Linked DNA regions of Homo sapiens: all the other regions are linked to region 4. The links are contacts of gene promoters, found by promoter capture Hi-C in blood cells and fetal thymus (Javierre and others, 2016). All regions are on one chromosome and are shown on one strand. Each heading gives the region's core, a stretch centred on a gene start or on the middle of the fragment in contact. The rest is flanking DNA. Distances are from core to core; before and after follow the strand shown.

Region 1 (2,700 bases), core at 96-2,595, 1.5 Mb before region 4:
AATATGCAGAATCTTAAGTTTATCTCATGGAGGCAGAGAGCAGAATAGTGGTTACCAGAGGCTGGGGAGAGTACAGAGGAGAGGAGATGAGGAGAGGTTGGTCAACGGGTACAAAGCTACAGCCAGATAGGAGGAATAAGTTTTGGTGTTCAATAATGTACTGCGCTATCTCAAAATAGCTAGAAAAGAGCATTTTGAATGTTCTCACCATAAAGAAATGATAAACGTTTGAGGTGATGGATTACTCTAATTTGAATGTACACATGTAACTACATCACACTGTAAACCATAAATATGTATAATTTATGTGTCAATCAAAAAAGCCTTAAATTCCTAAAGCTTTTTAAAGCCTTTTGCTTTGAATTGCTTTTATATTTTTCCCTTCTATATCTTTCTGAATCATATTATAGTAAACTTTCTGTATCATTTGGCTCTAGGTACCTCTCCTATATGTAGAATGAAGTTGGATATATTTTTTTAAAGAGGTTTTCATACGGTGGTTCACTTTTTTCACACATGTCCGGACATATTTATGTCATTCATGTTTGCTAAATAACCATGTTTTCTTGATTTGCTTAACCATGTTTTCTTGATTTGCTTTTTTGAATTACTTTTTTTGTTCTATTTTATTTTTAATATACATTCTTAAGCCTTATACCTTTCAAAGTCTAAAGGTAACCAGTTTCTATTATTTTCCTTTCAACCAGACAGAAACCTAAGTAATTTTATTTTTCAAAAACAAACAAACAAAAAACTCCCCTACCAAAGTTTCTCAAAGGTCAGGCAGATAATGGGCTTATATGAAGATGCAACTAACTGCGTTCCTCTGAGTGGGCAGGGGTGGGGTACGAAGGACCCTGCACTTACTGGTTTCTTACTGTGTACCACACCTTCTCACGGGTGCTCATTAAATTTAATGCCTGGCCGGGCGCGATGACTCACACCTGTAATCCCAGCACTTTGGGAGGCTGAGGTGAGTGGATCACCTGAGGTCAGGAGTTCGAGACCAGCCTGTCCAACATGGTGAAACCCCGTCTCTACTAAAAATACAAAAATTAGCCAGGCGTGGTGGCAGGCGCCTGTAATCCCGGCTATTCAGGAGGCTAAGGCAGAAGAATCACTTGAACCCAGGAGGCGGAGGTTGCAGTGAGCCGAGATTGTGCCATCACACTCCACCCTGGGGGATAAGAGTGAGACTTCATCTCAAAAAAAAAAAAAAAAAAAATTAAAATAAAATAAAATAAAATATTAATGCCCAAAGCAACCCTGCTGGTGTATCATAACTGTTGTCTTGTTATCATAACTGTTATCTTGATGGAAAAATAAGGGATGATGACTTGCTCAAGTTCCCAAGCAGGTGCTAGACTCAGGACTTGAACCTGGATCTGTTTGAACGAGGGGACCACGCTGATTCTATGATATCTTTTGGTAATCACTTGTTCGAATTACTTCATCTCACATGGGGGTGTAGTGTTCACTGACCCACTGGGCATAATTCTTTGTGTGGCATAATGATCTGGACTTTCTGCCCTTGGAATCTCAGTTCCCATATCTGAAATCCCAGAGGTGCAACTAGAAATGCAAACTCTACTTGCAACGTCCTTTGGAGAGGAGCACTTTCTCCTCCCAATTCTGTCTCTCCCATAGATATAATTGTAAGCACAATTTTAGTGGTCTTTCACTATATTCAAAGGAGAACTGGTAAGAAAGTTCTAAATTCCAGTAAGCTCTGCCACGATTTCAATGTAATGCAGTAAACATTTGCTATATATGAATAAACAAATAATAATAATAATAATAAAAAACCCTTCCCTGCTTTTCCTCACCAAAATGAATATATTCATTACTACAATAACCCCTTTATAGGTAATGGACCCCAAAATGTCAACATTCCCTGTAAATAAGAATGGCTCAATACTACTGCCATGATCCTTATCTTGGCAGTATGGGATAATTCTGGTGCACATACTTTGTATAGTATGAGAGTACCCCAAAATAATTCATTCAGTAATGTTTTCTCACACTTACAGTTTAAAGAATTAAAATAGCACAACTTTCAGATACATGGGCTGTGGACAACCAGTAATGCTAAAAATATTTCCTCTCTTCAGAGCTTTATAACTCATGGAATTGCAACAGCCTTAAAAACAGTTGAAAACAGCCATACTTACTGTACAGACATCATGCTTGTCTCCATTGCTGAATCCACTCTTCCTTCATCTGCTGTTTCCACAGCGGATCTATCTGATTCACCTGGGAGTTCAGGTGCACAAGCTCCATAAAGTTCTGGGGCTGTAGCTACATATGGTGAAGGAACAAAACTGCTACTACGCAACTTACTGACTTCTTCTTCAAGCTTTTTCTTTTCCTCAAGCAAACGAGCTCGATCTTCAGAAAGTGACTCTATCAAATCTGAAGGACACCCAAATTTAAAAAAGTATCATGTAATTAAAAAAACCACTTTGCATGAATGTATCTTTTCCACTTTAAAAAATTAAAAAAAATAGTACAAAACAGTACAAACCTTTATCCCGTTCTTGTTGCTGCATTGTACTTTTCAACTTATCACTAAGATCATTTATTATGTTTTCTTTTCTCATTTTCTCTCTTGTTAAAACAGTGTTAAAATTGGTCTGGAACAAGAGAATAATTATTTAAATTTATCTACATGTACTTAGCAGCTAGGACTTAGAAAATACA
Region 2 (2,700 bases), core at 143-2,642, 1.5 Mb before region 4:
AGATACTGGTTAGCATTAATGAACAGGGAGGATGAAAACTGATGGGGAGAAAGTCCTAAGTAGGGCTTCTGGGTTGAAACTATTTGTTTTTGTGGGGTTTTGTGTGTGTGTGTGTGTGTGTGTGTGTTTTTTTTTTTTTTTGAGATGAAGTCTCACTCTGTCACACAGGCTGGAGTGCAGTGGTGCGATCTTGGCTCACTGCAACCTCTGCCTCCTGGGTTCAAGCAATTCTCCTACCTCAGCCTCCCGAGCAGCTGGGACTACAGGCACATGCCAGCATGCCCGGCTAATTTTTGCATTTTTTTTTTAAGTAGAGACAGGGTTTCACCATATTAGTCAGGCTGGTCTCAAACTCCTGACCTCATGATCCGCCTGCCTTGGCCTCCCAAAGTGCTGGGATTACAGGCATAAGCTACCACACCTGAAACTATTTTTATCAATGTGTTCATTGTGAAAATTCACTAAGAATGGATGTACAATTATGGTTTGTGCATTTTTCAGTATATCTCAATAAACAAAAATCTATTCTTAAATTTACCAATAAGGTAAATGAGTAAAAGGTCACACCACAGGTAAATGAAGTAATCAGACATAAACTCAGAAAATCTGACTTTAGAGACCACATCCCGGACCATGAAGAAATATCACCTCTAATTCCTCACATAATGAATTGATTAGACCTATGTTACTGTTTTGGTTATAGCAGCTTTAGAATTTGTTTTATAAATCTGAAAAGAGGGCAGGCATGGTGGCTCAATGTATTTTATAAATCTGAAAAGAGGCCAGGTATGCTGATTCACGCCTATAATCCCAGCACTTAGGGAGGCCAAGACAGGAGGATCATTTGAGCCCAGGAGTTTGAGACCAACCTCGGCAACGCAGTGAGATCCTGTCTCTATATAATAAGTCAATAAAATACCTAATGTAAATGACAAGTTGACGTTGGGGAACCACCGCCTAGATTTCAGAAGATGTACGGAAACGCCTAGATGCCCAGGTAAGTTTGCTGCAGGGGCAGGGCCCTCATGGAGAACCTGTTAGGGCAGTGTAGAAGGAAAATGTGGGGTCGGAGCCCCCACACAGAGTCCCTACTGGGGGCACTCCCTAGTGGAGCTCTGAGAAGAGGGTCACGGTCCTCCAGACCCCAGAATGGAAGACCCACCAACAGCTTGCACTGTGCACCTGGAAAAGCCACAGACACAACGCCAGCCTGTGAAAGCAGCCGGGAGGGAGGCTGCACCCTGCAAAGCCACAGGGACAGAGCTGCCCCAAGTCCATGGGAACCCACCTCTTGTATTAGTGAGACCTAGATGTGAGACCTGGAGTCAAAGGAGATGATTTTGGAGCTTCAAAACTTGGCTGCCATGCTGGATTTCGAACTTGCATGGGACCTGTAACCCCTTTGTTTTGGCCAATTTCACCTTTCGCCTCCTGCCATAATTCCGAGGCCTCTTCAGCCACGAGGAACTGTTAAGTCCAATTAAACCTCTTTTTCGTCCCAGGCTCGGGTTATGTCTTTATCAGCAGCATGAAAACAGACTGATATAGAATGCTTGGTATCTGAATCTCAGATTACTATTTATGTATTTAAAAAATATTTTAAATATGATGCATTAAAAGAGAAATAATGCCAGCTTATATTTAATTCCTGATATACGTATTTCTGACATTTTATCTTTTCTTTTTACTTTCTTGTTTTCATTCTTTCGTTGAATATAGTTTTAATTGCTCTTTCTAATCACTTGAAAATTATATATCCTAGTTATCCTTTAACTTATTTTCATATTTAATACTTTCTCTATCAAAATGTAGTATGTACACTTTTCAACCAAATCAAAAAAACAACTCTAAAAGATTCTATTATGTAAATTCAGTTTACATAAGTATATTTTTTAAAATTTTGTCCTCTCAAAGCACTTTTGGACTCTCAAATGTTTATTAAATATGTTTCACACAGATGAGGTTATTTCCTTTTAATGTTGTATCCTATGTGAAAAATGGGGGTATTTGTACAAATGTATATACTGCTTAAAACAAATCTCTAAGAGTTTTACTAATTAAAGCTAATGTTCAGTAATGTTATTTATTTTTACAAAAGGTAAATACTATTATTTCATTGGTTCTAACACATTTTTTCCATGATTAAAAGAAAAATGTAGCTTACCACTGATAGCTTAATGTCAATGATATTACTAGAAGGTAAATAGTAAATTAAAAAGGAAAATCAAATGACTGGGAAACAATCCGTGGGAACTGCAAGTAGCAGTGTTAAGAGCTATATATTAGAAAGAAACCTAATTCTCCTCCAGGAACTAACCACAAATATGGAAAAAATAAATACATTTTTAGAGCTATTTAAGTTCTCTTTGTTAACATCTACTCTAACGTAGGTCCTTTATTAATTAATGTTCAAAAGTAACTATTTACATATTATCTAGGAAAGAAGGTGACCAAATCATGTTAAGACAGCTTTTCCACTCTAAAATACTGTCATTATCAAAGTAGAATAACTAGCAATGTATGACCCAGAAATTTTAAAACTAGATATATTAACCGGAAAATATTTTTAAAGTTTATTTGTCAAACTTTTTGCATACTTCCTATGCAATTTAGACTACTGTGCTATTTAGATCCGAATGCTTTTAGAAACAATCAGTTAAAATAATTGTTTATATCTTACCAATGCAAGCTGTGTCCTTG
Region 3 (2,700 bases), core at 114-2,613, 1.4 Mb before region 4:
CTGTAATCCCAGCTACTCAGGAGGCTGAGGCAGGAGGATCACTCGCACCCGGCAGGTGGAGGTTGCAGTGAGCCGAGAGCATGCCACTGCATTCCAGCTGGTTGGCAGAGTGAGACTCAAAAAAAAAGAAAAGAAGAAGAAAAAAATGTAGATAAAACAAGAAAACAACTTTCTTCATCAATACATGTCTGTCTAAATTTCCATTCTCTAATCTGTAAATGGGGATATTTATCATACCTACCTCATATGGCTGTTGCAGAAAAAAAAAAGAAATCACAGTAAATATTCCCAAAATGTTCTCTAGGGACAGGAAGTAACTCTGTGACATAACACAAAGCACTCAAAAGCATCTGTTGAATAAACAGGGTTTCATAAGCAAATGTACTCTTGGGGTTCTAGTAGCAGTACTCTAAGCAAATGACAAAGCAGAATCCAAATAGTAACTTAGTAACAGAGAGAGATCACATGCAGGTAGCTAATTTTCAGCAGTTTCTTTATCAGCCAATGTGTTCCCAGTATCTTATATTAAAAAAAAAAAAGTAATCAACTTGGTTTAATATATTTTAACATCATATATGAATAAGTACTCCTTGGTTCCACATAAACAGTTACTAAGTATGTGTATCCTCTCTTCCACCTTATTCCCATTAAGCTATCTAATTCAGATCTTCCTACTGCATATCGGGCTCTAACAATTACCTATCTGAGCACCTACTATCTGCAGATTCCATCTCAGATGACACCACCAACTACATAATCTTAGATTCTTTTAATGTTTACTTCTCCCCAAACTAAAAATGCTTCATAACTTCTACTCAAGTATAAATTCCTTAGACTGACACTCCACTATTTCCTTTATTTGGGTCCCTACATGAAGCTCCATACCATTTAGGCTGATCTCCTGAAATGAGGTGCATGAATAAATGGATTTTCATGCCTCTACTCATGTCATTCCACAGCTTCCATTATGTAACCAAGAATTCACAAATATTCTGTCGTAAAGTCTTCCTCAATGTACTGGCTGTCAGTGGTCTTGTTCCTGAAGTACTGACAGCCCATACTTCAAATTCCAACTATTCAAGTAAGTGTTGGTATTCAGAACATAAATAAATGCCCTGCTACACTTTTTTGCCACTTGCCAAATAACTTACATCGCCCAAGCTGTATTGCAAATGGCTAAAAAAAATTTTGGTCATGACATATCATACCTCAATACCTAACATACTACCTAGAGACAGTAAACAGTCAATAAATGTTTGCGGTCAAAACCATGGATAAGGACTACGGCAACCAAAACTGAAATCAGAAAGTTGCTCAGAGAGAATCCACAGGAACACTGTCGCTATTTATTCACAAGACTGTATACTTTATGTTACATACTCCTATATGCTATCAAAATAACATGATCCCATGAAACTGAATTCTCTCCTTTGTATGCCACAATTGTTAAAAAACATTCAGCAAAAAGGGACATCAGTAACCAAGTACATATTTGGTCACCCTGAAATAAAAAATACTTGGAAAGAAATAAGAGATCTGGTTTTTAGTCCTAGCTTCACATCTTTACTCCTGTGATTTCAGGAGTTATCCAATTTCTCTGAATCTCAGTTTCGTCATCTTAAAACATAAAGGGGTACACTAGATTATTCTTCTGATCTTCTATAAATAGTCAAATCATACATTAAACATGAGTCTAACACACTGAACAAATACTAATTTTAAGAAACTTATTGTGTGTTAGTGCCAAAAAGTAATAAAAAGCACATTACCTGCCTTCCAAAAAGTTCAATAATACTAATATGAAGAGAGGTATGCAAAAGTTAGACTGAGAAAGAATGGACAAGAATTCACACAAAGGTGACATTAAAAAAAAAAAAAAAAAAACACAAAAGTATATGTAAAATCAAGTTCCAACTAGAAACTGACAGTTTACCCTCACTGATCACATTACTAAAACTTAAGAGGATAAACTTAATAAACCAATGATTTCTTTTAAGAAAACAATCATTAAAAGGAGCTAATTCTTTTATTAACTTGCAACTTTGGGAATGCTTATTATGTACATGTACCCCTAATTTACGTAAAGTCCATTAAATCCTGTAAGTGGGTTGACTCTCTATGATCTAGAACTAAAGTTATTGCATGTAATTGTTAAGTAAGGTACAAGCACAGAAATCAACTGCTATTCAAGGAATTATAAAGTAACTTTATAAGCCTTATATAAATAAGCCTAGTACATAAGTATTACTTTTCACCAAATAGTCACGATTTCCTAAAATCTGACTTGATGCTCATTTTATATAAAGTCCTTCTTAACTTTTATAAAATGAAACCATATTTAATACTATACAAGTTAACACAAGCCAATTCTAAATTAAAAGTAACAGGTTAGTAACTCAACAACTGACACAAGATTTTCTTAAATTATTTGACCCTCTGCTTAAACAGTCTTTAGTTTCTACCCACTAAGAATTACTATAAACTGCCTACCATATATACTGAGACTTCGTAGGACAGAACAACTGTCAAAACATGTCAAACATACTCATAACTCACACGGTAGTTAACAAGTTAGTAGGAATCATGATGCATTAATAAACATAATGCATGAAACTGAACAGATCCAAATTGATCTTTATACATGCATACCTGCACTTGTGTATCTATACAATAATGGTGGGATTTCAAATTGGGGAGAAA
Region 4 (2,728 bases), core at 199-2,698:
TGGGAGGCCGAGGCAGGGGGATCACCTGAGGCCAGGAGTTGGAGACCAGCCTGGCCAACATGGCGAAAACCCGTCTCTACTAAACATACAAAAAAAAATTAGCGGGGCGTGCTGGTGAACGCCTGTAATCCCAGCTACTCAGGAGGCGGAGGCGGAAGAATTGCTTGAACCAGAGAGGCAGAGGTTGCAGTGAGCTGAGATTGAACCATTGCACTCTAGCCTAAGCAACAGAGCGAGACTCTGTCTCAAAATAATAATAATAATAATTCACTTTTGGAAACTGTTCCCTACTAGATTTCAAACAACTTGGGAATGAAATCCTATTTGAGTTCATCCATGTGTATTTCCAACAAGTTCAGTGTCTTACTTATAAATAGTACTTGAAGGAATGAATACAACTTTTTCTTTATGTAGTTATTTTACACTTGATTTAAAGGAACTTTAAAAAGACGCAGTTATACCTAGAGACAGACGCCCTCCAAAAATTGTCTCACCTTCATTATTTGTGATTACTAGTTAGAGCTAGCAGAAAAAACTCCCCAGCAAGTGAAATGTCAAACCACTACTAAAAGAAAGAAAAAGAAAGGAACAGTCTTTTCTATATTTAAGTCACTTGAGAGAAAAAAGAAGAGCTGGTATTTTTCGAGTAATAATGTTCGTATTTTGTGATGCAGATACTCAATTTTACATTCTAAAAATACTACTTTTATAGTAGGAAGCAGTGTACGTTTGAATCCTGGCTCTGCCGCTTGTTGCAAGAAGTTGGTCAAGCTATCGGACCTTGCTAAGCCTTCCCTGTTGTAACTGTAAAATGTAGTAACACCATTTACCTCTAGAATGGCTGTAAATCGAGTAAGGCTTATTTAATACAGCGTCTGGCATACACCAGGCATTCAGTATGGCGCCAGTCATTAACAATAGGTGGTTACTAACTGCGATTCACTCAAAACAATACAGATGCACACGGATGAGAGTTCACACTTTGAGTCTTATTCAAAGATTGGTTATTAGCCAGGCATTTTGATAGGTGCACTCAGTTTTATTTTCGTACCTCACGGTGTATAATTACGCAAGCTCAAAAGCTAATAATTGACAGCTCACTTTGCTTTACTCTGGGTTCTGCATTGACCTCAGAGAAGACACGGCCTAGACAAACAGGCAAGGCCCAACACTGACTCAAAAAAGATCCTTTATTTAACGCAGTGTTTTTAGTGCATGCTCTCGTTTGGCGAAAGAGAAGGTTTTACGTTCAGAATATTAAAAGGGACCCCGAGGACAAAGCAGGATCTCGGAAAATAAGATCACATCCCCAAACAACTAAAAGGACAACCGAGACAAGGTTGCAGACTCCCACGCCTCTGCCCGACTCCCGGGCTTGCGCGCGCGGCTGCAGCGCGACAGGGGCGGGGCCACGGCCACAAAGCAGCCCCCGAGACCACGTGGCCTCCGAGCAGCTCAGGGCGCCCTTGAAAGTTCTTGGATCTGCGGGTTATGGCCGGTCCCTTGCAGGGCGGTGGGGCCCGGGCCCTGGACCTACTCCGGGGCCTGCCGCGTGTGAGCCTGGCCAACTTAAAGCCGAATCCCGGCTCCAAGAAACCGGTAAATGGGTGGTGGCGGTGCGGGGAAGCGCTGGGGACCCGGGCGATGAAAGCGGCCCTTCTCTCCCTGTCATTAGGAGAACTGCCCTTTCTAGGAGAGTGTTGGGATGAAAATAGGATTGCCTCATGCCTGTTCTCCCTTACTGCCCAGAGGGGAATCTTTCCACGTGCACCCAGTTCTTTTTTTTTTTTTTTTTTTTTTTTCCGAGACGGAGGCTTGCTCTGTCGCCCAGAAGCAATTCTCCTGCCTCAGCCTCCCGATTAGCTGGGATTACAGGCGCCCGCCATCACGCCCGGCTAATTTTTGTATTTTTAGTAGAGACGTGGTTTCACCGTGTTGGCCAGGCTGGTTTTGAACTCCTGAGCTCGCGATCCGCCTGCCTCGGCCTCCCAAAGTGCTGGGATTACAGGCGTGAGCCACCGCCCCCGGCCGCACCCAGTTCTTAATAAGGTTATGTTTACAAGTGTAAAGATACCAGGCGGAGAAGCCGACTCGCTGAAACTACAAAGTCTTTGTGTCATTCAAAATTGGATTTAAAATGAAATGTTTTCCCGGTGTATCTTTATGTTCATTGGAAAGATCTGAATTGCAGCTGTCCCTTCTGCAGTTGACTAAATAGAGCTAGAAAAGCTGTTAGTTGACAATGTACTGTCATTTTAACAGTCAGTTCATTGCTTTCGTGAAATGACAGGAAATTAAGGAAAAGATTTTCTTCAACAGATCAGTTTTCAAATAAAATTACAGGTTTATGAATAACATTTGCATATTTACAATTAATTTCAGAATAAATTCTTGCCTATCATTTAAAATGTTGTGAATATTTAATTCTAGGATTTTTTTCGGTTTCAACCTATTATAAAAACCTTATCCCCATCCTAACCTTTACTTTTTGCTTTTGAAACACACTTGGACTTTGGTTACAAGAATTAGCTATGTCTTTAGAGGCAAAGATGCTAACAGAGTGTGTGGAGCTTTGAGCAACTAGGACATGCTTGACACAATAGTGTTAGCTAGCACTGGTGGGCTGGATGAATGAACAGCATAACAAAAAGTGAAGAGCTGAAATGCAGTTTTTAGAAATGCATCTGAAATTCATAAAATTCTTTTTTTTCCTTGCAGGAGAGAAGAC
Region 5 (2,700 bases), core at 46-2,545, 1.6 Mb after region 4:
TGCTATCATCATTATTATTCGCTTGCTTGTGAAAAAATAAGAGTTGCAGGAAGAACAGGTTTGAGGGTGGGATGGAGATCAGGAATTCCATTTTAAACATGTTAAGTTTAAGATGTCTATTGGACATCCAAGTGAAGACATTAAGTAGGCAGCCGGACATCAGCAGTTTAGCAGGAAGATCAGGAGGAGGATACAGGGTATAAGTGGATGGCCCTGATATAAATCTAGGAATTGGTAGCATATAGACAATATTTAAAACCATGGAACTAGAGAAGATCCCTCCAGGGAACGAATATAGAGTAAAAAAGAATTTCTGGCCAGGCACAGTGGCTCACACCTGTAAACCCAGCACTTTGGGAGGCCGAGGCGGGAGGATCACCTGAGGTTAGGAGTTCGAGACCAGCCTGACCAACATGGAGAAACCCCGTCTCTACCAAAAATACAAAATTAGCCGGGCGTGGTGTCGCACGCCTATAGTCCCAACTACTTGGGAGGCTGAGGCAGGAGAATCGCTTGGACCTGGGAGGCGGAGGTGCAGTGAGCCGAGATCATGCCACTGCACTCCAGCCTGGGCAACAACAGCGAAACTCAGTCTCAAAAAAAAAAAAGAATTTCCAGGACTGAGTCTTGAGGCACCCAACATTTTAGAAGTTGGGAAGACAATGGCAAGCCAGCCTCCTCCTTGCAGAAGCAGTATCCTGGAAGTAAGAGCTTCAAGAAGGAAGGCATATTCTGCTGTTTTAAATGCTGTTGACAGGCCTAGTAAGGTAAGAGATCACTTCCTTCCTGTAGGAGACAGCTTTAAAAAAAAAAAAAAAATGATAATTGATCACTGGATTTTACAACACAAAGGAAACTGGCAAACCCTGGTAAGAGCTGTTTTTGTATAGTAGGAAACAAAACACTTTGGACAGGAGAGGACAGAAGCAGCTCCCCTTTACCCTTGAAGTTCAAGAATGAATGGGAGAAAATGAATTGGAAACAGCAAATATAAAAACTCACAAAGGAGGAAAGAAACAGGTGGGTATCTAGAAGGGAACACAGGTGAGTTGTTCCTTGCTGCTGCTGCTGCAGCTGTTGCTTTAAGACAGAGGCCAGGCATGGTAACTCACACCTGTAATCTCAGCACTTTGGGAGACTGAGGCAAGAGGATCGCTTGAAACCAGAAGTTCAAGACCAGCCAGGCAATATAGTAAAAACTCATCTCTAAAAAAAAAATTTAGGCCAGGTGCGGTGGCTCACACCTGTAATCCCAACACTTTGGGAGGCCAAGTAGGGGCAGATCACTTGAGGCCAGGAGTTCAAGACCAGCCTGGGCAACACAGTGAAACCCCATCTCTACTAAAAATGCAAAAATTAGCCAGGTGTGGTGATGCATTCCTGTAATCTCAGCTACTCGGGAGGCTGATGCACAAGAATGGCTTGAACCCAGGAGGTGGAGAGTGCAGTGAGCCGAGATCATGCCACTGCACTCCAGCCTGGACAACAGAGTGAGACTCTGCTCAAAAAGAAAAAAAAATTAAAAATTAGCCGGGCATGGTGACATGTACCAATGATCCCAGCCACTTGGGAGGCTGAAGGGGGAGGATCACTTGAGCCTGGGAGGTAGAAGCTGCAGTGAGTAATGATCAAGCCACTGCACTCCAGCCTCAGTGAAAGAGCAAGAGACTCTGTCTTTAAAAAAAAAAAAAAAAAAAAAAAGGGCCAGGCACAGTGGTTCATGCCTGTAATCCCAGCACTTTGGGAGGCCAAGGCGGGTGGATCACTTCAGGTCAGGAGTTTGAGACCAGCCTGGCCAACATGGTAATGCCGTCTCTACTAAAAACACAAAAATTAGCCAGGCATCATGGTGCATACCTGTAGTCTCAGCTACTTGGGAGGCTGAGGCACTAGAATTGCTTGAACCCGGGAGGCAGAGGTTATATAAGCCGAGATTCTGACAGTGCACTCCAGCCTCAGGGACAGAATGAGAATCCCATCTCAAAAAAAAAAAAAAAAAAAGATAGGAGAAAATACACCCATGTTCAATGTCAACGATAATTCATCAATGGGAGTGAGAAACAGATGATGTAGGAGAGGAGATAATTGTTAGAGCTCTGTCCTTGACTAGGCCAAAGGGGACAGGATACAATGTACAAGTGGATGGCCCTGAGAAGTTTGTGCCAGATACTATTCTAAATATATCAGTAAATAAAATAGTTATCTAAGAAAACATACGAAAAACACTTACTTTCTGGCACATAGTAGGCACCTAACAAATGCTGGCTAAATATACAACTGAACTGTGTTCGTCTAAAACTTTTTTTTTTTGAGACAGAGTCTCACTCTGTCACCCAGGCTGGACTGCAGTGGCTCGATTTCAGCTCACTGCAACCTCCACCTCCCAGGCTCAAGCAGTTCTCATACCTCAGCCTCCCGTGTAGCTGGGACTACAGGCAAGCACCACTGCACCCAGCTAATTTTTGTATTTTTAGTAGAGATGGGGTTTTGCCATGTTGGCCAGGCTTGTCTGGAACTCCTGGCCTCAAGTGATCCGCCCGCCTCCACCTTCCAAAGTGCTCGGATTGCAGGCGTGAGCCACCCTGCTTGGCCTCATCTAAATCTTTAACAGAAATCTGGATCAAAACAGTATCCTAAAACCTGCTACTAGAGAACTATCAGAGGAATTTGAATAAAATGCCTTTCAGTAGATAAAATGTA
Region 6 (2,700 bases), core at 38-2,537, 1.9 Mb after region 4:
CAGGAAGGAAGTGAAAGAGATATTCCAAACTGAGTGTGCAGGTCCAATTGCTATTTATATCATACTGGATGTTAGTCCTCCCACCACGATCCCAGAATTTCACCCAAGAAAGCAGAAGTATACACAAATCTTTCTTCTGAAATTTATCCAAGTTATAAGAGCCAGAGCAATGCTGAGGCCATATCATTTTGTGGAGACTAAAACTCCCAAATAAAGAGGATGATACAAATCTGTCTTTCGCTTTAAGCAATGAAAATCAAATGAAGTATTTTAGTTAGAAAATTCTAGTCACACAAATATTTGAAGATAGTGTTTCAGAATTAGACTCAGGAAAATGGATTTGCTGTATAAATTCTCAAGAGATCTGAATCATTATAAAGTTTGCTTAGATCTTTCAATTTCAAAAACAAGGGCTCTTCCACGACAGAAATGATCATGTCTTCTTTCAGCGGTTTAAATTCAGGAAAGGTCACTGTGTCCTTAGATGAAAAAAGGTAAGTTAAAGGCAGAGGATCTCAAAGTTTATTGGCCATAAGCCATTGTGGGAAATACATAGAAACCTACTCTGTACATAAAGCAAACGTTTCATAAAACCATATTGACCTTTCCTATGTGCAGTGCTTTCTGACCTTTTCTGTTTTATTCTGTTATAATTCATTTTAAAAAATACTGGTAATTGGCTGGATGCAGTGGCTCCCGCTTTTAATCCAGCACTTTGGGAGGCCGAGACAGGCAGACGACTTCAGGTCAGGAGTTTGAGACCAGCCTGGCCAACATGGTGAAACCCCGTCTCTACTAAAAATACAAAAATTAGCCGGGCATGGTAGTGGGCACCTGTAATCCCAGCTACTTGGGAGGCTGAGGCAGGAGAATCGCTTGAACCTGGGAGGCGGAGGTTGCAGTGAGCCAAGATCGCTCCACTGCACTCCAGCCTAGGTGAAAGAGGGAGACTCTGCCTCAAAAAAAAAATAAAATAAAATAAAATAAAATAAAATACTGGTAGTACTCTAAAAAAGTCAATTTGTTGATCCCAAATTGTTGATCCCAAATGCGGATAGTGCCCCGCAATTTGAAAAACACTGATTAGAAAATACATTCAAAAGAAGGTTCTGTTTCAAATCTGGTAAAAAGCCATTTCCCCTGAAGCTGCCACTTATTTAGAATCCTTCCAGTGACCAGTGATGGTATAATCTACAGCTTTGAAAAAGAGATAGCTATGGAAAGGAAATTCGTTGTGAGGAATGGAGCCCCTCTCATATGCCAGATATTGTATATACTTTGCATGACATACATTCTTCTCTAGAGAAGTTCACATCCTACAGAACAGGGTATCCATGAAATATGCAAAACATACAGGTGTGGATAGATACTGCTAGATGAGCACATAATTGAAGGATTAATCTCCTTTATCATGCAGGAAAATGTTATTATTATAATGATCTTTTTTACCCTTTAAAGCTATTCTCAGGATCAAAGATTGACAGTTCAGCTTCTGAATTACCCTGAGACATTTGACCACATTAAAAACATTCTCTATTACCAGGCCTTTTGCAGAGCTCTAGAGGAGTAATGAGCACCTTACTTCTCTCCTGGAGGTCAGGAATATGCAAATCCAGAGTCAGAGTGAGCTGTCACTCTGGCCAGGTACTGCAGATTGGAACAGTTAACTGCGTCTGTGAAGTAGCTCCACTTGAGACTATGATTGGGGTTCAGTTTTCCTCCTCAATTAATATCTTGCTCTTAAAAGACAGTGACATCCACAAGATATGTAGCACAAACTACAGACAAGTGTCCTTCAGATTAACTGAACCATCATTATTTTCCAAATTAATCCCTAAGTTTTTAACTATTTGGCAAGCATGTAACCAATTTGTTGGGCTGACTTAAGGGTGCTGACTTTAAGTAAATGAAAATACCAATTATTAAATGAAAAGCCAATTTTTGAAAAATGTCCGTATAAGATAATATGTGGTAAAATTATTTTTTTCATAAATATACTACAAGTTGAAGCTGAAAGCATGCTACCCTGCAAACATAATTAAAGTTGAGAGTTAGGATTAGATTTGGGTGATTTATTTGAAATGTGAGGCAAGTCCAATATCCTTTTGTTATTAAAGAGAACTTGGCTGTGGCTCCTACTTAACAAATTTTGGCAAACTGAATGCTGTCTTGATCCCCTCCATGCTAAATTTATTTATTGAGTTGCTTGCAGAAATTTCCTTAGCTTCTATATTAGTTGGCAAGGGCTGCCATAACAATACAACACACTGGGTAATTTAAACAACAGACGTTTATTTTTCCGGGGTTCTGGAGTTTCAAAGTCCAAGGTCAAGGTGCTAGCCAGGTTGATTTCTCCTGAGGCCTCTCTCCTGGACTTGTAGATGGCTGCCTCCTCCCTGTGTCTTCACATGGTCTTTCCCCTATACTAGTCTGTGTTCTAATCTCCTCTTATAAGGATACTAGTCATATTGGATTAAGACCTACCCAAATGGCCTCATTTTAACTTAGTTACCTCTATAAAGGCCTTATCTCTAAATATGGTGCTGTCAATTCTGAGGTGTACGCGGGGTTAGGACTTCAACCTAGGAATTTTGGGAGGATGCTGTTCAACCCCTAACAGCCTCAGTAAAGCTTGTTTCAATCATGGTTACAGGATGTGAGGAGCAAAAAGACCACTGCAGTGCTTGACCCTCTGCCAGG
Region 7 (2,707 bases), core at 106-2,605, 1.5 Mb before region 4:
AACATGGAGCTTTTTTAAGTCTTCTAACACTATTTCTCGTGACTGCTTCAGTTCTTTAATTTCACAATTTTGAGAGTGCATTATATTTTCCATCTCTAACAACTTCTGATCCTTTTCATTCTGCAGGCAGATTACAGCTTCTTTTTCATGTTTAACCAAAGCAAATTCATTATCTTTATTTTGTAAAACCTCCTCAAGGCATACTAACTCTCCCTTCAATTTTTTAATTTTGTTTTCATTCTCTTCAGTTTCCTTTATTAGTCCGTCAAGTTTACCTTCATATTCATTTTTTAAAGACAGTAGTTCTTTTTGATGTTTTTCTTTTAGTGTTATTTCCAGAGAACATTTTACTTTTTCAATAATGTTTCTTATTTCTACTGCTGTACATTTTAATGAATTTGAGAAGTCACACTGTTCTTTTTGTACAAATGTTCTAAAGTGGCAAAGGTCTTCCTTAATGGTTTGTATACTGAAGTGAGAGTCTTGGGCAACAACTCTACATCTTTCCAACTGGACATTCAGAGAAGTATGATCTCCAAAATCCTCCTTACCACATACATTTGTATCCTGCATTCGTCTACTGTCTATCGCATTGATAACTGATGAATAAAGTGATTCCACCATCATTTCTGGGCTTTGTGGATCACTTATAGGATTAGGAGACGACAAATTTTCTTCTATTACAAACTCATTCACAGCAGACATAAAATCTGATTCAGGACTTTCTGCTAATGAATCCAAGTCTAAAGAAACTTGGTGAATAGTCTGTTCTATGTTTGGATGGGGAATAGTTTCAAAATCAAACGTATGTGCATCAATACTATCTGGAGATAATTCTTCTAAGGGACAAACTGCAGGACATAAGGGATCCTGAACAGTCAGTGGTGGAGGAGTTCTCGGTGAGGTAGTAGTTGTAATTCCTGCTGTACTTTCCATCCTTGGTGAAGAAGCAGACTGTGGGGATGTCTGACTCACAGATGCCTGGAAAACAGAAAGAAAGGCTTAAAGAGCTGCAGGAACACAAACATTTTACACTAATGAAGAAAACTGTTTGAAAGAATTGAATTTGCCTTTTGTTCACTCAGTAGATCTGTAATGGTCTGTGACATTTCATCCAAACTTTGTGCTGCTTTTACCAAATTATGTAGAGCAAGTACATGCTGGTGTAGAGGTTCAAAGTCACAAAGTAAGGGAACCCTGAAACAGAATGCAATGCAATTAGACTTCTGATTTTTTAATGAACTAGTAGATAACTGCTACCAAATATTTTAATATGTCAAAAATAACAAGAGCCTTATCATTCCTTTTTAAATTAATACCAGAAGTATTTTAAGAAGTTTGTGTCATAATCAGTAAAGTAAAAACTTAGGGCCGGGCGTGGTGGATCACACCTATAATCCAAGCACTTTGGGAGGCCTAGGCGGGTGGATCATGAGGTCAGGAGTTCGAGACCAGCCTGGCCAACATGGTGAAACCACATCTCTACTAAAAATACAAAAATTAGCAGGGCATGGTGGTGGGCTCCTGTAATCCCAGCTACTCAGGAGGCTGAGGCAGGAGAACTGCTGGAACATGGGAGGTGAAGGTTGCAGTGAGCCAGTATCACACCATTGCACTCCAGCCTGGGCGAGAGAGCGAGACTCCGTCTCAAGAAAAAAAAAAAAAAAAAAAAAAGTAAAAAGTCAGAAATTTCCCAACAGCATGCAAAAAGTAACTACTAGAAAAAAATAATTACATGTAAGGCATGTCTTCCTTTACTTTACCTTCATTTTCCATCATTTTTTATTCCCCAGAAATTTCTCAAAGCAGTCACAGGAAAGCCAGTCTATCTTAAATATTTCTTATCTTGGCACCTCTTAAGATTACTGGTACTACCTGGCACAACTCCAGAATAATAAAAACATTTTAAGGTTATAAATTAACTGAAAATACTAATGACATTTACCTGAGGAATGGCTGAACTTCCGAAGGACAAAATGATTGCAGAAACTGTAAATCTTTTAATGAAATATCTGGAAGTTCACAGTCAAACTTTCGAGGCTTTTGAGTCTGTACCAAAAAAATTAATTACTTAAAAAATTTTTTTTCAACCAAAAACAGACAGCAAATTTATATGATTTCTTACTATAATTAAATTTACTATACCAAACAAACTAAAGTGCTTTAAATGATTAAGAAACAAAAAAAGACCATTCAATAAAGATATGGCATATTATTTTCCTGAGCCTTTAGTAAACTGCGACGTGAACTGCTAGTGATCAAGGGATGCACTTGTTCCTCCCCTTCTCTGCTTTTAGCATCATTTTATGGGAATTACAATATTCCTATCCTGTATGTGTATGTATGTACATATACATATGGTAAACACATATGTAAGTGTGTGCGTATATATATAATATTTACCATGTTAAAGCCACTAATATATTAAAATGCACACATGTATTTTTTTTCCATGTAACACTTTCTTATTTGCTTTTGCCTTGACTTTTCCATTACATTTTCCAGAAGACAAAGTTTTGGTCAATTTTAGCTTCTGTAAAAAATATTAACCGGTAAATCCTACCAATTCATTATTTATAAAATTGCCAAGAGTTGCATTAAAAAAAAACTTGTTTTAAATCATTACTCAAGCAGATGTGGAGATGCCAAGATGCTCTTCATAAAAAAGAGTTCTCGGATAAATAAGTATGGGAATCGCTATGTCACC

Evidence for each region. Contacts are between HindIII fragments. The CHiCAGO score rates a contact against its expected background, and 5 or more counts as called.
Region 1: a fragment that was not itself captured here is called in contact with the fragment with the promoter of MRPL15 in region 4 in 1 of 17 cell types (non-activated CD4 T cells); the score reaches 5.5 in non-activated CD4 T cells.
Region 2: a contact is called between a fragment that was not itself captured here and the fragment with the promoter of MRPL15 in region 4, in 1 of 17 cell types (non-activated CD4 T cells). The highest score is 6.6, in non-activated CD4 T cells.
Region 3: a contact is called between a fragment that was not itself captured here and the fragment with the promoter of MRPL15 in region 4, in 5 of 17 cell types (naive CD8 T cells, non-activated CD4 T cells, total CD8 T cells and 2 more). The highest score is 8.1, in naive CD8 T cells.
Region 5: a fragment that was not itself captured here is called in contact with the fragment with the promoter of MRPL15 in region 4 in 1 of 17 cell types (total CD4 T cells); the score reaches 5.9 in total CD4 T cells.
Region 6: a fragment that was not itself captured here is called in contact with the fragment with the promoter of MRPL15 in region 4 in 1 of 17 cell types (M2 macrophages); the score reaches 5.1 in M2 macrophages.
Region 7: a contact is called between a fragment that was not itself captured here and the fragment with the promoter of MRPL15 in region 4, in 1 of 17 cell types (naive CD8 T cells). The highest score is 8.9, in naive CD8 T cells.

What each region holds. Positions count from the first base shown.
Region 1 is chr8:52,640,180-52,642,879 of GRCh38, forward strand. It overlaps RB1CC1 (RB1 inducible coiled-coil 1), which reads right to left. Exons shown (of 24, transcript NM_014781.5): 17 at 2,525-2,633; 18 at 2,172-2,412. Among named protein-coding and RNA genes, the nearest start is that of RB1CC1, 73 kb to the right of the region's middle. The HindIII fragment of the contact is 2,017 bases long and covers 338-2,354 here.
Region 2 is chr8:52,680,869-52,683,568 of GRCh38, forward strand. RB1CC1 (RB1 inducible coiled-coil 1) reads right to left here. Exons shown (of 24, transcript NM_014781.5): 5 at 2,681-2,700. Among named protein-coding and RNA genes, the nearest start is that of RB1CC1, 32 kb to the right of the region's middle. The HindIII fragment of the contact is 3,785 bases long and covers 1-2,700 here.
Region 3 is chr8:52,702,591-52,705,290 of GRCh38, forward strand. The region is part of intron 1 of RB1CC1 (RB1 inducible coiled-coil 1); the gene reads right to left. Among named protein-coding and RNA genes, the nearest start is that of RB1CC1, 10 kb to the right of the region's middle. The HindIII fragment of the contact is 8,152 bases long and covers 1-2,700 here.
Region 4 is chr8:54,133,793-54,136,520 of GRCh38, forward strand. MRPL15 (mitochondrial ribosomal protein L15) reads left to right here and starts at 1,449. Exons shown (of 5, transcript NM_014175.4): 1 at 1,449-1,599; 2 at 2,719-2,728. The coding sequence starts at 1,492. The HindIII fragment of the contact is 13,913 bases long and covers 1-2,728 here.
Region 5 is chr8:55,767,341-55,770,040 of GRCh38, forward strand. The region is part of intron 1 of TMEM68 (transmembrane protein 68); the gene reads right to left. Among named protein-coding and RNA genes, the nearest start is that of TMEM68, 4.7 kb to the right of the region's middle. The HindIII fragment of the contact is 6,579 bases long and covers 1-2,700 here.
Region 6 is chr8:56,007,160-56,009,859 of GRCh38, forward strand. The region is part of intron 12 of LYN (LYN proto-oncogene, Src family tyrosine kinase); the gene reads left to right. Among named protein-coding and RNA genes, the nearest start is that of SNORD54, 65 kb to the right of the region's middle. The HindIII fragment of the contact is 2,684 bases long and covers 1-2,629 here.
Region 7 is chr8:52,656,928-52,659,634 of GRCh38, forward strand. RB1CC1 (RB1 inducible coiled-coil 1) reads right to left here. Exons shown (of 24, transcript NM_014781.5): 13 at 1,946-2,049; 14 at 1,071-1,197; 15 at 1-981. Among named protein-coding and RNA genes, the nearest start is that of RB1CC1, 56 kb to the right of the region's middle. The HindIII fragment of the contact is 4,310 bases long and covers 1-2,707 here.